Linked DNA regions of Homo sapiens: region 1 is linked to region 2. The links are contacts of gene promoters, found by promoter capture Hi-C in blood cells and fetal thymus (Javierre and others, 2016). All regions are on one chromosome and are shown on one strand. Each heading gives the region's core, a stretch centred on a gene start or on the middle of the fragment in contact. The rest is flanking DNA. Distances are from core to core; before and after follow the strand shown.

What was found. The method cuts DNA at HindIII sites, captures the fragments that hold promoters and counts their contacts. A CHiCAGO score of 5 or more calls a contact.
Region 1: a contact is called between a fragment that was not itself captured here and the fragment with the promoter of LARP4B in region 2, in 1 of 17 cell types (monocytes). The highest score is 10.7, in monocytes.

Annotation. Positions count from the first base shown.
Region 1 is chr10:5,806,145-5,812,802 of GRCh38, reverse strand. All of the region lies in intron 1 of GDI2 (GDP dissociation inhibitor 2), which reads left to right. LOC124902367 (a long non-coding RNA gene) reads left to right here. Exons shown (of 2, transcript XR_007062041.1): 1 at 1-488; 2 at 847-6,658. Among named protein-coding and RNA genes, the nearest start is that of GDI2, 4.0 kb to the left of the region's middle. RefSeq lists a silencer at 1-88. The HindIII fragment of the contact is 3,008 bases long and covers 413-3,420 here.
Region 2 is chr10:929,739-936,083 of GRCh38, reverse strand. LARP4B (La ribonucleoprotein 4B) reads left to right here and starts at 4,379. Exons shown (of 18, transcript NM_015155.3): 1 at 4,379-4,656. LOC124902363 (keratinocyte proline-rich protein-like) reads right to left here and starts at 4,093. Exons shown (of 2, transcript XM_047426111.1): 1 at 2,969-4,093; 2 at 1-1,248. The coding sequence starts at 3,957. The coding sequence ends at 3,253. LARP4B-DT (LARP4B divergent transcript) reads right to left here and starts at 3,058. Exons shown (of 3, transcript NR_120629.1): 1 at 2,969-3,058. RefSeq lists silencers at 3,799-3,888, 3,969-4,678, 4,749-4,858, 4,889-4,968, 5,059-5,188. The HindIII fragment of the contact is 3,248 bases long and covers 2,950-6,197 here.

The DNA.
Region 1 (6,658 bases), core at 667-3,166, 4.9 Mb before region 2:
ATTTCCTATTCCGCCTCGGCCGCTGCCCCGGGTCAGTCTGGCTGCCAAAGCCGAGTACGGGGTTTCCTGACAAGTCTTGGATAATCACTGCTTCGGAACTGCTAGGGCTTGATTAACTTATATTTTTGGCGAAAACGTGGAAATTAGTCTTTTAATCCTTTCTCCCCCCTGCTAATGAGAAGTATTATTGAATCCTTTTAGCCACCCTCCCTTCTCACTTACTGAGCATCTGTAGAATTGGAATTGAGTTTTTTCAAAACTTGTCCGTCAAATGCTTTCGCACCTGACCTTCGCCGCCTTTTCCTTTTGTTTGGTGGGTTCTCTGCCTCCTTTGTCTCTTCTGGACTGTTTTCCCCTAAGAATTGGGTTGGTGATGGATTGCTAAAAGCCAAGTTCTCTGTACTCCGAAGCTTTCTTCAGGGAGTTGGAAGATAATAACATGAAGAATGCATTGTAATATATGAATGCAAGGTGTACCTAATATCATGGTATATTGATTTTCCTGGTTATCTGTTTCTAAGGGAACTTTAGGTAATCTGTAGATAACGCAGGCAGGTTCTGTAGTTTGTACTTTTTCTGTTCTTTTTTTTTTTTTTTTAAATGTTCATCTTGCAAAAGAATTCACTTTGGAGAAAACCATTTTAACTATCAATTTTTGGGGAAATTTGAAATTCTAACTTTGGGCTGCTTGATCATAATTAAGATGAATACTGATGTAAATCTTGTGTATCCTATGTACTCTGACTTCAAATTCCTGAGTCATTTAATGTAGACTTCCACTTCAAATTTTTTGAAATTTATTATAATCTCTCAGGGTCAAACCAATTTTTTTTTTTTTTTTTACAGGTAACATCCCAAAATAACACTTTTAGATGTCTCTAGGCAAGAGAAAACCTTCGAACTTTTATTTGGCTAATTTTTTAGGAAAGGTTTGTGAAGAATTAGAATCGTGTTTTTCTGGTCTGTCATTTTTCTGTTTATAGTTATATGCAATTATTAGAGAATATTCATTCTGAATACTTCGTTATGTTTGACCAATCCAGGAATAATCCTGTGTCTGTCTTTGAAAAGCTGGAAGACTGTTGGATGCCTAAATGAATAGGCCCTACCCACTGCAGGTTTTGTGCTTTTTTTTTTTTTTTTTTAAGTGCCTAATTGGGATTCCAAGCTGAGCTTAGTAGTTTGTGGTGGATTTTGCCTGTTGGAATGGGTAGTGTTGCTGCCAGCGTGTTTTAAGAGCCGGTTAGTTCCACCGTTTTTCTATGGTTGTTGCTGGTCTTTCAGATTTGCTCACAATTGAGGTCAGTTAAGCATGCACGAGTGAGTGCAAATCCACCATCATGCAGGCTTCCACAAGCCTCGTTCACATCACTTTGTATCAAAGATGGTGAAAGTGTTTTTATATAACAAGTTAAGATAATGAGCTTTGTTTAAATTTTCATTCGGATTGTGAACTCTTTGATGAATGGTAGATGCATACTTAACTAGAAATCAGACCTGTTTCTGCTGTCATTTTGTAGCTGTGATAACTTTAATCTCTGTGAGCCTTCCTAAGTTTTCTGAGATGTTCTTTGATAATTATATCAATTCAGGACAATCACATTATTACCATCATTGATAGGAGTAGTGATGACAGGATGATTTTGATAATGAGAAATCATATATCCTTATTTTTAGTGTTACCAGGAATTAGATGATTAAAAATTAGAAGAAGAGAAAACCAAAGTTAGCACTCAGAATTAACTTTTGAATGTCTGGAGTTAATTAATTTTCTTAAAATTTACTTTAGTGCCTGAGACTTAAGAACCTAAAAAAAGGCAAGTACTTTCAGTGTTAGGAACTTGTTACTTTTAAAGAAGTGTAAGGAAGTGCTGGAGTTGCTGTGTTGCTTAGTGCTGCCATTGTTTGTATGAGTTGTTAAGTCTAAGCTCATAATCACAAATATTGATAGTTATCTTAATCAAGAAGATACAAAACGATTTGGTATAAAGGAGTAAAATCTTCATTCTGTGTGTAAAAGAAATGGAATATTCCACACAATTGAATTTTCTGAGGAACTAAAGGTTATCTCTAAAGAGCACAGCTTTTGGATAATGCCTTTCTAAATGCTGTCACAACTTCTTTAACAAACTAAGAAACATAATTTACTTGATAACCAAGTTTTCACATAGTGAAGATTAACTATTGTGTTATGCTGTAACATGGTGAAGCCATGAAGACCCCGCCAGCTTTGTAGGAACTTTTGCCCCCTTTACTCTCAGGCTGCTATGCTTTTTGAGCTCTTCAGTTTACTCTTCATATTTTTTCCCTCTATCTTACTTTACTGTTAGGCTGGCAACATTTACTTTTCTCTGCTTTCAGCATGTGTAGGCAGCCTCTCACCACATAATTTGCACATAGTTCACTATGGACTTGGAAATAAATTCACGAGTCTTGTTAGACATAGTAGATTAAAACAATAAGAGTAACTAGTTCCACAGCTGTTTGTGCTTCCCAGAGGTTTTTTTCTTCCCATTTTTTGTTCTACACAGTAAGAATTTATGAATAGAAATATATACTTTAGTGATGTATACCAGATGATTCTCAGCATCATATGTTTAAAAACTTGCTTTACATCCCAGATACTTTTCCTCATTTCTCTTTATCAGAATTTTGTGATTTCAGATTCAGAGAAGGTTTTATACTTGATTTTAAAATTCTGAACTAAAATTCAGATTGCCTCTTGGATTTGCTTAATCTTTGATTTGCTCTTTGAGAGTTCTTGCTTATAGCTGTGTTAGAGTTCTGTAGACAAAGGACTTTCTATTCACTACAGTAGTGAGCATAGGATCAATATTTGCAAATGCTGTTACACTTGGGAGCTGTGTTGTAGGCAGTTTAAACCAGCGTTAAGCATCCTGGCCAAAAGAAAATATAAGTGAAATTAGACATATTTTAGCATGTAGAGATGACAATAGTGTGACATTGGTTTTTAAAGACCACTGGTAGATGTTCACATGCGTGATACACTGCAATTACCTCTGTCTTCCCTCCCATGGTACCTGATTGGAGACTCTTACTGGAGTAATAGTTTCAGTTTCAGTTATTTAAACCCAGTGACTATTGTGATCAGTTATGGGCAGTAAAAAGGTAAACACAGAACCTGTCTATAAGTAGCTTGTTCTCGTGTTGGAGAGTAACTAATAAGAATTAGTATGAGAAAGCATTAAGTCCCCTAAGAGGTGCACTTATATGAGTTCAGTCAGGGAATCAGGAAAACCTTCGTAAAGAAGGAGATATTTAGCTGGCTTTAAAAAAATATTGGCAAGGTTTGAATGGAGGAATGATTTTTTAGGCAGAGAGCAGTCAGTGTAAGTCAATGCTAAGTCAAGGATGTATGTAGGGAATGGGGAGTGGTTTGTTTTGCTTGAAACAGAAGCTTTGGAGAGAGATTCTAGGCTAAGAAATGTGAAAATTATCTTCAAGGCAGTGAGAGAGGACTTTGAGCAGGAGAGTGATATAATTAGCCACATTTCAAGAGAAGGTATCTTTTGACAGTTTTTTTTTTTGTTTTTTTTTGAGATGGAGTCTCACTCTGTTGCCCAGGCTGGAGTACAGTGATGTGATCTCGGCTCACCGCAACCTCTGCTTCCCAGGTTCAAGCAGTTCTCCTGTCTCAGCCTCCCGGGTAGCTGGGATTACAGGTGCCTGCCACCATGCCCAGCTAATATTTGTATTTTTAGTAGAGATGGGGTTTCACCATATTGATCAGGCTGGTCTCGAACTCCTAACCTCAGGTGATCCACCCGCCTAGGCCTCCCAAAGTGCTGGGATTATAGGCATGAGCCACCGCGCCTGGCTGACAGTTTTTAATGAGATGCATTAGAGGGGCAGAGTCATTTAAAGAAACATTCTTCATAAAACAGCCATTTTTATTATGTTGCTGTAAGATACTTGCCATTGAAATGAACTGATTTAAAATTTTTCTGGTTAATTTCTCATGTTTCTAGGTAAGTAGTTTTGAAAAGGCACTTTAATATTAGTTATTAGATACTTTGTACTCCTGATCACATTTGTGTGTGTGTGTGTGTGTGTGTATTTGTAGTTTTTTTTTTTTTTTTTTTTTAATAACAACAATACTTTTTATTTCTGAGACAGAGCTCTCTGTTACCCAGGCTGGAGTGCGGTGGTTCAATCTCAGCTCACTACAACCTCTGCCTCCCCGGTTCAAGTAATTCTCCTGCCTCAGGCTCCCAAGTGGTTGGAATTACAGGTGCTCACCACCACGCCCGGCTAATTTTTTTGTATGTTTAGTAGCGATGGGGTTTCACCATGTTGGCCAGGCTGGTTTTGAACTCCTGACCTCAGGTGATCTGCCTGCCTCAGCCTCCCAAAGTGCTGGGATTACAGGCGAGAGCCACCGCACCCAGCCCATAACAGAACTTTAAAATGCAGTAGGATTTGATAGGGTGTAGAGGATTTTTTGTTTGTTTGTTTTTGAGACAGGGTCTCGGTCTCTTACCCAGGCTGGAGTGCAGTTGTGTGATCACAGCTCACTGTAGCCTCAACCTTCCAGGCTCAAATGATCCTCCCACTTCAGCTTCCCAAGTTAGCTGGAACTACAGGAGGCATGTAGTTTGGGTATTTTTTGTAGAAATGGGGTTTTGCCATGTTGTCCAGGCTGGTCTCAAACTCCTGGGCTCAAGCAGTTCTTCTGCCTCGTCCTCCCAAAGTGTTAGGATTACAGGCGTGAGCCACCTTGCCCAGCCAGGGTATAGAGTTTAGTTTGTCACTAGGAAGGTATATCAAAATATTAATAAATTTTGGCTCTATTCCCTTCCAAGTCTAAATTGCTCTGTAATCGGGGTTGGGGAGTGGGCATTAATTTTTCAGCATACCATTGTTACTGGCCGTGGAAACACCATGTAGGTGTAACAATTCATATATAGAAATTTCATTCAGCCTCTTCAGGTGCTTTGTCTAATATATTTGGGTGTTGTCCAAATGAGTTATTCTGTTTTTGATGATTGCAACTCTGGTGGTATGTGTAGGGTGCTGAAGGAAGAGAACGTCAGTATCGCTGATGGTTCTGTCCCCCAGCCCCACATCCACATATCTACACGTACTAGCACTTTGGTGCAATTAAATATTAAAAACCATTTTGGTTGGTTACCTGTTTTTATGTAGGAGAACGTCAAGTGCCAGGTGGGTGGCAGATGCTAGTGTCATACAGAACTTGGATTCTGAAGATGGTTTTATAGTCTTAGTGATTTTGGATGTGAATATGTATTCTTATCCTGCTTAGGTCATTTGTAGGTGAGTTTGAAGTTACAGTGGGTACTCTTACCTGTTACATTTACAACTCATGTTGGTGAATATTCATTCACATACAAGTTTCGTGGTTAAAGTTACTTGATGTACATGATAGATGGACCAGCTTTTCTAGTGTGAAAAAGAGAAGCTTAGTTTTTATGGCTTTAATGTGCTTTGCTTGTGAATATTGTGTATTCATCAGATAGGTTGTAGTAGAATTTAATTTTGAGCTGGTAATTTTGGAAAAATATTAAAATTTTAGGATCATTAATATATACTGTGCCCAGATATGACTGATAAATTCTATCAATTAATGACTTCACCCATGTTTTAAAACAAAGCTTATTATGTTTGTGCTATTATATATTCTTTTAGCAGTGTGGAAGCAGTCTTTTATAATAGTTGGGTATAGAGGAACTAGTGGGCCTGCAGATTTTTTATTAGCTTTAGTTAGCTCTTGTCATATTTGCTCCAAGTGGTGCCTTTGAAGGTAGTTGCTGTCAGCTCTTTGGACTCGGCCACATCTTTAAATTACTGGGCCCTTTATTTTAGGCCTCAGTGCTTGCTTTACGGCCATAGTCCAGTGGGTCATGCTTAGTGTGAAAGGTTATATATAGAAGCTGTGCAACACTCCAATTTGCTTGCTGAGATTTTGCTTTCAAAAGTCTGCAGTCTACTTTTGTCAGCTGGGAATGTAACTGTCTTCCTCTGCTGTGTCATAACTTATTTTTAAGATAGTAAATATTTTATTTTCATATGTGGAACTATATGTTGGTGCTGCTTTAGGTTGTTTTCTTCCCCCACCCCCCAAAAGTAAATTGTTTTAGTCAGTATTAGGGTTGATTTTTGTAGTTGTTAAAATACCTTCATTTCCTTTTATGAAGACATAATGAAGAAAGTGAAAAGGCAGGCCACAGAATGGAAGAAGATAATTGCAGTACATGTAACTAATAAAGGATTTATATATAGTATATAAAGTACTTTTATAAAGCAGCGAGAAAAAGCCCATTTAAAAAATGGGGAAAAATTTTGAATAGGCACTTATCATAAGTGCCTTATCACTTAGCTTGATCATCAGTAAACGTTTTTTTGTTTTTTTTTTTTTAAATTTTCTTTTGTAGAGATGGGGGTCTCACTGTGTTACCTGGGCTTAAGCGATTCTCCCACCTTGGCCTCCCAAAGGGCTGAGATTATAGGCATGAGCCACCATGCCCGGTCCCTAATCATTAATCAACTATTTAAAAAGTGTTCAACCTTATTTGTCCTCAGGAAATGCAAATTAAATCACTTCTTAACTAGAATGGCTAAAATTAAAAAGGCAACAGTGTAAGTGGTCAAGGATTTGAAACAGTGGGGACTCACTGCG
Region 2 (6,345 bases), core at 3,130-5,629:
GGAGAAGTAGTGTTTATTTTTTCACAGAAAATGCTTCGGGATAAAATAAAAGAATGTTCACCTGTAATCCCAGCATTTTTGGGAGGCGGAGGCAGGTAGATTACTTGAGGTCAGGAGTTCGAGACCAGCCTGACCAACATGGTGAAACCCTGACTCTACTAAAAACAAAAAACAAACAAAAAAAAAAAACAACAAAAATTAGCTGGGCATCATGGTGCATCCCTGTAATCCCAGCTACTCGGGAGGCTGAGGCAGGAGAATCACTTGAACTCGGTAGGCGCAGGTTGCAGTGAGCCAAGATTGTGCCACTGCACTCCAGCCTGGGAGACAGAGGGAGACTCAAAAAAAAAAAAAAAAAAAAGAAAAGAAAAGAAAAAAGAAAAAGAAAAGAATGTTCTCAGACACCACTTGAAATGTAGGCCTCTGCTAGAGAAATACACATGCTGTATTTGTTTGGTAGAGACTTTGTCCCAAGATCACTGCCCTCGCTGCCTCTGCCCTTGAGGCCTGACCATTTCTTTGGGATGACAGTAGTGTCAGCTGAAAATTGTATGATGTGATGTAGCTCAACAGAGCTACAAACAAGTGCTAATAATAGGGCCCAGAAGGAAAATCAACTGTCTAAAACACTTCAGTGGTTGACATTTGGGCTGTAACTTGAAAAATAAGCGAGATTCCGCCAGAAGGAGACATCCAAGTACAGGAAGCACATTTGAGGCCAGGGGACTCACATCCATTAGGACCTAAGTGCTCAGGCTCCAAAAGAATGCCGCCCTCGACTTCCAGAGCAGCGCAGCGTCTGGAGCTGGGGCACCTCTCCATTTCTTTGTATAGGACTGTCCACACTATGAACTGTGGACTTACCTGTCAACTGTGCAGTCTGGAGTGTAAAGTCTGTATTTTATTCAAGTGTAGACTCATCAACTCCCTCAATACCTTCAAAAATGCTCGGAAAGTGAGTGTGATTGGAAGGTAAGGATGTCTTAGGATAAGGCAGGAAAGGAAACACAGGGGGCTGGGCTGAAGACAGGCTGGGACTAGCGTGTGAAGGGTCTTCTTTCCACAGGAGAACTTGGACTTTATCCTCCTGGGCAGGCAACGGGGAGCCGGTGAAGGTCGCATTGCAGGAGGATGGTGATGAAGCTTTTTAAGGAAACATGTGCTGGCACTGTGAGTAATGGACTGTAGCAGAGACCAACCGCGACGCCACTGAATCAAACCAGGTGAGCAGTAACAACGGCAAAACCACTGGGGGGACGGGGAGAAGGAAAGAGTTTTTAGGTAGGATTGACAGAATTTGTAACCACTTGACATGGGAAATGAGGGAGTGTATCTGATCATGGTTTGAGAAATTTATACTAAAGTTTTAAAAAACTGATCTTGTCTAAGGAGAGATGCCATGAAAATGTATTTCATGTTATAACCTCACATCTCAAGGTGAAAATGGATGTTTCTTCTGAGACACAGGTTTGAAAAAAAGAAGATCATGAGGGAACAAAAAGCCCAGTTCTGATTGTTGGAAAGGATTACACAATACGAAGAGAAAGAAGAGATGGAATTCTTTTAGTTTTAGTTTTTTTCTTTTTCTTTTTTTGAGACAGGGTCTCGCTCTGTCACCCAGGCTGGAATGCGGTGGCACAATCACAGCTCACTGCAGCCTCAACCTCAAGCGATCCTCCCACCTCAGCCTCCTGAGTAGCTGGAACCACAGCCATGCACCACATGCCCGGCTACTTTTGTATAATTTTTTAAAGAAATGGGGCTTTGACATATTGCCCAGACTGGTCTTGAACTCTTGGCCTTGGGCGATCTGCCTGCCTTGGCCTCCTAAAGTGCTGGGATTACAGGCATGAGCCACTGAACCCATCCCATTACTTTCTTTTGTAATAGGTAAGACATAGATGTCTGCTGGAATGTAGACATAGACAAAAAAGATTGAAGTTTAACCTACCAGCCGGGAACGGTGGCTCACGCCTGTAATCCCAGCACTTAGGGAGGCTGAGGCAGGCGGATCACGAGGTCAGGAGATCAAGACCATTCTGGCTAACACGGTGAAACCCCATCTCTACTAAAAATACAAAAAATTAGCTGGGCGTGGTGGCATGCGGCTGTAGTCTCAGCTACTCCGGAGGCTGAGGCAGGAGAATCACTTGAACCCGGGAGACTGAGGTTGCAGTGAGCCGAGATTATGCCACGGCACTCCAGCCGGGGTGACAGAGGGAGAGTCAGTCTCAAAAAAAAAAAAAAGTTTAACCTACCAATTTTGGGGCAGAATTCCTAGACTTATACCACATCAATGGCCCTAGCAATGTTATGAACCAAGAGTAAGCTCCTGTAGGTTATCCGTGGAGGTAAAGGAACCAGGCACCTAAGCAAGGACACTATGGCCTACTGGTCAGGGCAGGTTGTCCAGGTAAGCAAGTTTTCTGAAATATGTACATGCTTTTAATATTAAAGGAAATGTGTCTTATGTCGTTAAATGTTCTTTAAAAACATTACTATGAATATAATTATTTAACTTGCAAATTCCCTTAAAGCTAGGATGCAACAAGGTTTCACAAAGAAGGCACCCAACCTTGATGTCAACAGTCTACCCACTATGGGAAGCCGGAGAGGCTTTCTTCCAAAATGCAGAATTGTCAGCATTTGAACGCTGAGTACGAAAAATTATAAGCACAGGCTGGGTACACCGGCTCCCATCTCTAATCCCAGATTTTGGGGGCCCGAGACAGCACTCTGAGCTCAGAGTGCAGACCTGCATAGAGCAAGACCCTGTATCAAAAAACAAAATTAAAAAAGCAGTTGTAAGCACAGGTACACGGTTAACCATGAATATGGTATCCCTGAAAAGCCGTTTTAATGGGGGAACAAACCTAAAATTTGGAATAATTGATAATATGTGTATATGTAGCCAATCAGAGCAGAAACCAGAAAATCAGGCAGCAAGCTTAAGGGAAACGCAACATACTTTGTTTGGTTTCCTTTTCTTCCATAAACTGATCAGGGGTAGGTAGAGTATGCTGCTATAGTTCGGAGTCGTCACCATCCTCACGGAAACGGCAGGAGTGTGAACACCTCCCTGAGCTACCAAGAGCATCTGACTCGTTGCAACGTGGGCCCGAACCCAGCGCCTCTAGGAAACGTGGGGCCGGGGCCTTTTGGTCCCGGGTGTGGGTTGGGGGTTTGGGGAAGGGCCGGGGCCTTGATCCCAGGTGTGGGGTTGGGGATTCCGGGGCTGAGCCGAGGCCTTGGTTAGGGGTGTGGGGCGGGGGTTCGGGGCAGTGCCGGGGCCTTGGTCCCGGGTGTGGGGTTGGGACTTCGGGGCCGGGACCTTCGTCTCAGGTGTGGGGCGGGAGTTCGGGACAGGGCTGGGGCCTGGGTCCCTGGTGGGGCGTTCGGGGCAGTGCCGGGGCCTTGGTCCCGGGTGTGGGGTGGGAGTTTGGGGCAGGGCCGGGGCCTGGGTCCCGGGTGGGGCGTTCGGGGCAGGGCCGGGGCCTTGGTCCCGGGTGTGGGGTGGGAGTTTGGGGCAGGGCCGGGGCCTGGGTCCCCGGTGGGGCCTTCGGGGCAGGGCCGGGGCCTTGGTCCCGGGTGTGGGGTGGGAGTTCTGGGCAGGGCCGGGGCCTTGGTCCCGGGTGTGGGGTGGGAGTTCTGGGCAGGGCCGGGGCCTTGGTCCCGGGGGTGGGGTGAGGGGTTCGGGGCAGGGCCGGGGCCTTGGTCCCGGGTGTGGGGTGGGAGTTCGGGGCAGGGCCGGGGCCTGGGTCCCGGGTGTGGGGTGAGGTGTTCCGGGCAGGGCCGGGACCTTGATCCCAGCTGTGGGGTGGGAGTTCGGGGAAGGGCCAGGGCGTGTCCTGGGTGGCCAGGGTCGGGGCCTGGGTCCTGGGGGTGGGATGAGGGGTTCGGGGCAGGGCCGGGGCCTTGGTCCAGGGTCTGGGGACAGGCTAGGGCCGGGGTCGCCATCCGTCCTGGGCGGCGGGCAGGGGTCTTTAAGGGGCGCACGCGGTGGCGGAGGACCAGGGCCCAGCCCTCCGGAAGTCAGGGCCCACACGGCCCCCCAGCGTCAGGCGCTCCGGTCGCGCCGGGGACGGCGGGCGGGGCGGGCGGGGCGGGCGGGGCGGACGTGCGGCGTGCGCGGGGCGGGGCGATGTGCGCGCACGCGCCAATCGCAAGGCCGCGAGCAGGGTGTACGCGCGGAGAGGCCAAGAAGGCGGCGGGGCGGGCCGAGCGTCGGGTGCGCCCAATCAGCGCGCCGCAACACCATGACGTGAGGCTCTCCCGGGGCTGAGCGCCAGTCCGCGGGACCGGCGGGTGAGTGCGCGAGTTCAGGGCGCGAGGCGCGGGTCCGCGCGGGGGCGGGACTTCCGCAGGGCCCCGGAAGTGGGAGCTGTGTGTTCTCATGCGAACGGGAAGGAGCGTTGGGGATCTGGAGTCCCGGGGTTGAGACATTTTCGGGCCCGAAAGGGGAAGAATCCGCCGCCGCCGCCGCCGCCAGCTCGCGCCCGCCCTCTCCCCTACCTCCGGCCCGGCCCGGCCCGGCCGCGCCGCCTCTCCCTGCCGTCTCTCTCCTCGCCGTCCCCGCGTGTGGCGCGGCCGCCGGGCCCCGGGGTTGAGGCGAGGAGCCCGCGGGCGGCCGGTCGGGCGGGGCGGCGGCGCTGACAGGTGAGGCACCCTGGGCCGCGGCGGGCCGTCCCTCCCGGCCCAGCTCGGACCCGCGCCGCGCCGCCTGTCACTGCGCCGCCATCTTCCCGGAGGACGCGGCCGCGGCGGGCAGGGCCGGGCCTGGGCCGGGGCCGGGGCCGGGGCAGGGGAAGGCCGGGGCCGGGTTGAGGAGGACCGGGGCTAGGGCACGGGAAGGGCCAGGGCTGAGGAGGACCGGGGTCAGGGCCAGGAAAAAGCCGGGGCTGAGGAGGACCGGGGCCGGGGCAGGGGAAAACTGGGGCTGAGGATGGCCGAGGCCGGGGCAGGGGAAGGCCGGGGCCGGGGCTTAGGAGGACCCGTTGAGGCGAGGCGGGAGTCGACGGAGCTGGGTGCCCGGAAGACCGGGCCGGGGTCAGGGTCGGGAGGCCGGGGTTGGGCGAAGGCCGGCGAGGACGGGGGTCGGGCAGGGCCTGGGCGGGGCCGGGGTCGCGGGCCGCGAGCGCCCCCAGGCCGGGCGGGCGCCGGCACCCGCAGTGCGGCGCCAGCCTTGCCACTCGCTCCTCGGTCCCGCCGGAGCCCGGATAGGCGGCCGTGCGGGTGCGGGGCGGGACGGGTCATCAGGGCATCGCATTCCTTTAGAACCAGGAAGTTGGGATCCTGTTGCTCGGTGTGTGTTTGGAACGCTCCTGTTTTCCTGTTGATAGACTTGAGCAGAGGTGGATCTGAAGGAGTTAAAAAAATAAAGTCAGATGTGAAGATTGCCTGTGTTGGTCTTGGGGCTGGGATACATGGGCGGCAGAGAAGCCATCGGAAAGCTGCTGCACCTGCCTCTCAGGGTGCGCTTGGGAACGTGAAGAGTCTTTCCGTTTCAGTGCCGTTGTGCGTCGAAACTTCATGCGAATGTAATTTTGCTTTTCCCCTTATTTTTACGTAAAACGTTCTTAAAACTTGGCTGAGATGAAACTTGAGAAACCTAGCTGTAGAAAACTACCTCCTATCTGGCTTTCGTTTGAGATTCTCTAAGTGGATGCCCAATAACTTGTCTTAATAGTAAATTGGAAGTTTGAAGTTTTGGATAACTGAGAAAACAGGAAGGTTTTCCTTGACAGGGCAGTGGAGTTTGTAAGTATAAACAGTATGCGTGAGGCCTTTTTCTAGAGATGAGAGCAACTCCAAGGTGAACATTGAAGGGGACAGACAAGTTATTTTCCCTTTCGAAAGTTTTTTTCTCTTAGTTTCAGTTGTTTGAATATTTAAATGCACTTGAAATAGGTGCTGAGTTGTAGTTTGTGAAGACCACAGTGGGGAAGAGTGGTGTCCTCTTTTTTCTTGGTGGTCAGGTGGTGTGTGCAGTGTGCAATTTCCATACTTCCCCAACCTGCCTGGCGCCCCTCATTACAGTCAGGGTAATTTACAGAAGTTGAAATCGTTGTGGCTTTTCAGTTTTTTCTCCTTGTATTTAATATGCTGAAAGGCAGTTTTGTAATCAAACCATATAAGAAATAGCTTAATTGAGGTTTGCTAAGTGAAATGCGTTCCGAAAGGCATCAGATTAACAAGCTTATTATTTAATCATAAATTTAATTTGTGTACTTATCTTTGAAACTTGCATTGGTTAGAAATAAATTTTATCCGGTATTTTGAAAAGTTAATGTGAGTTGAGTTGACTTATTTATATGAAACAAAGGCATGGCTTATTCATTAGAAGTT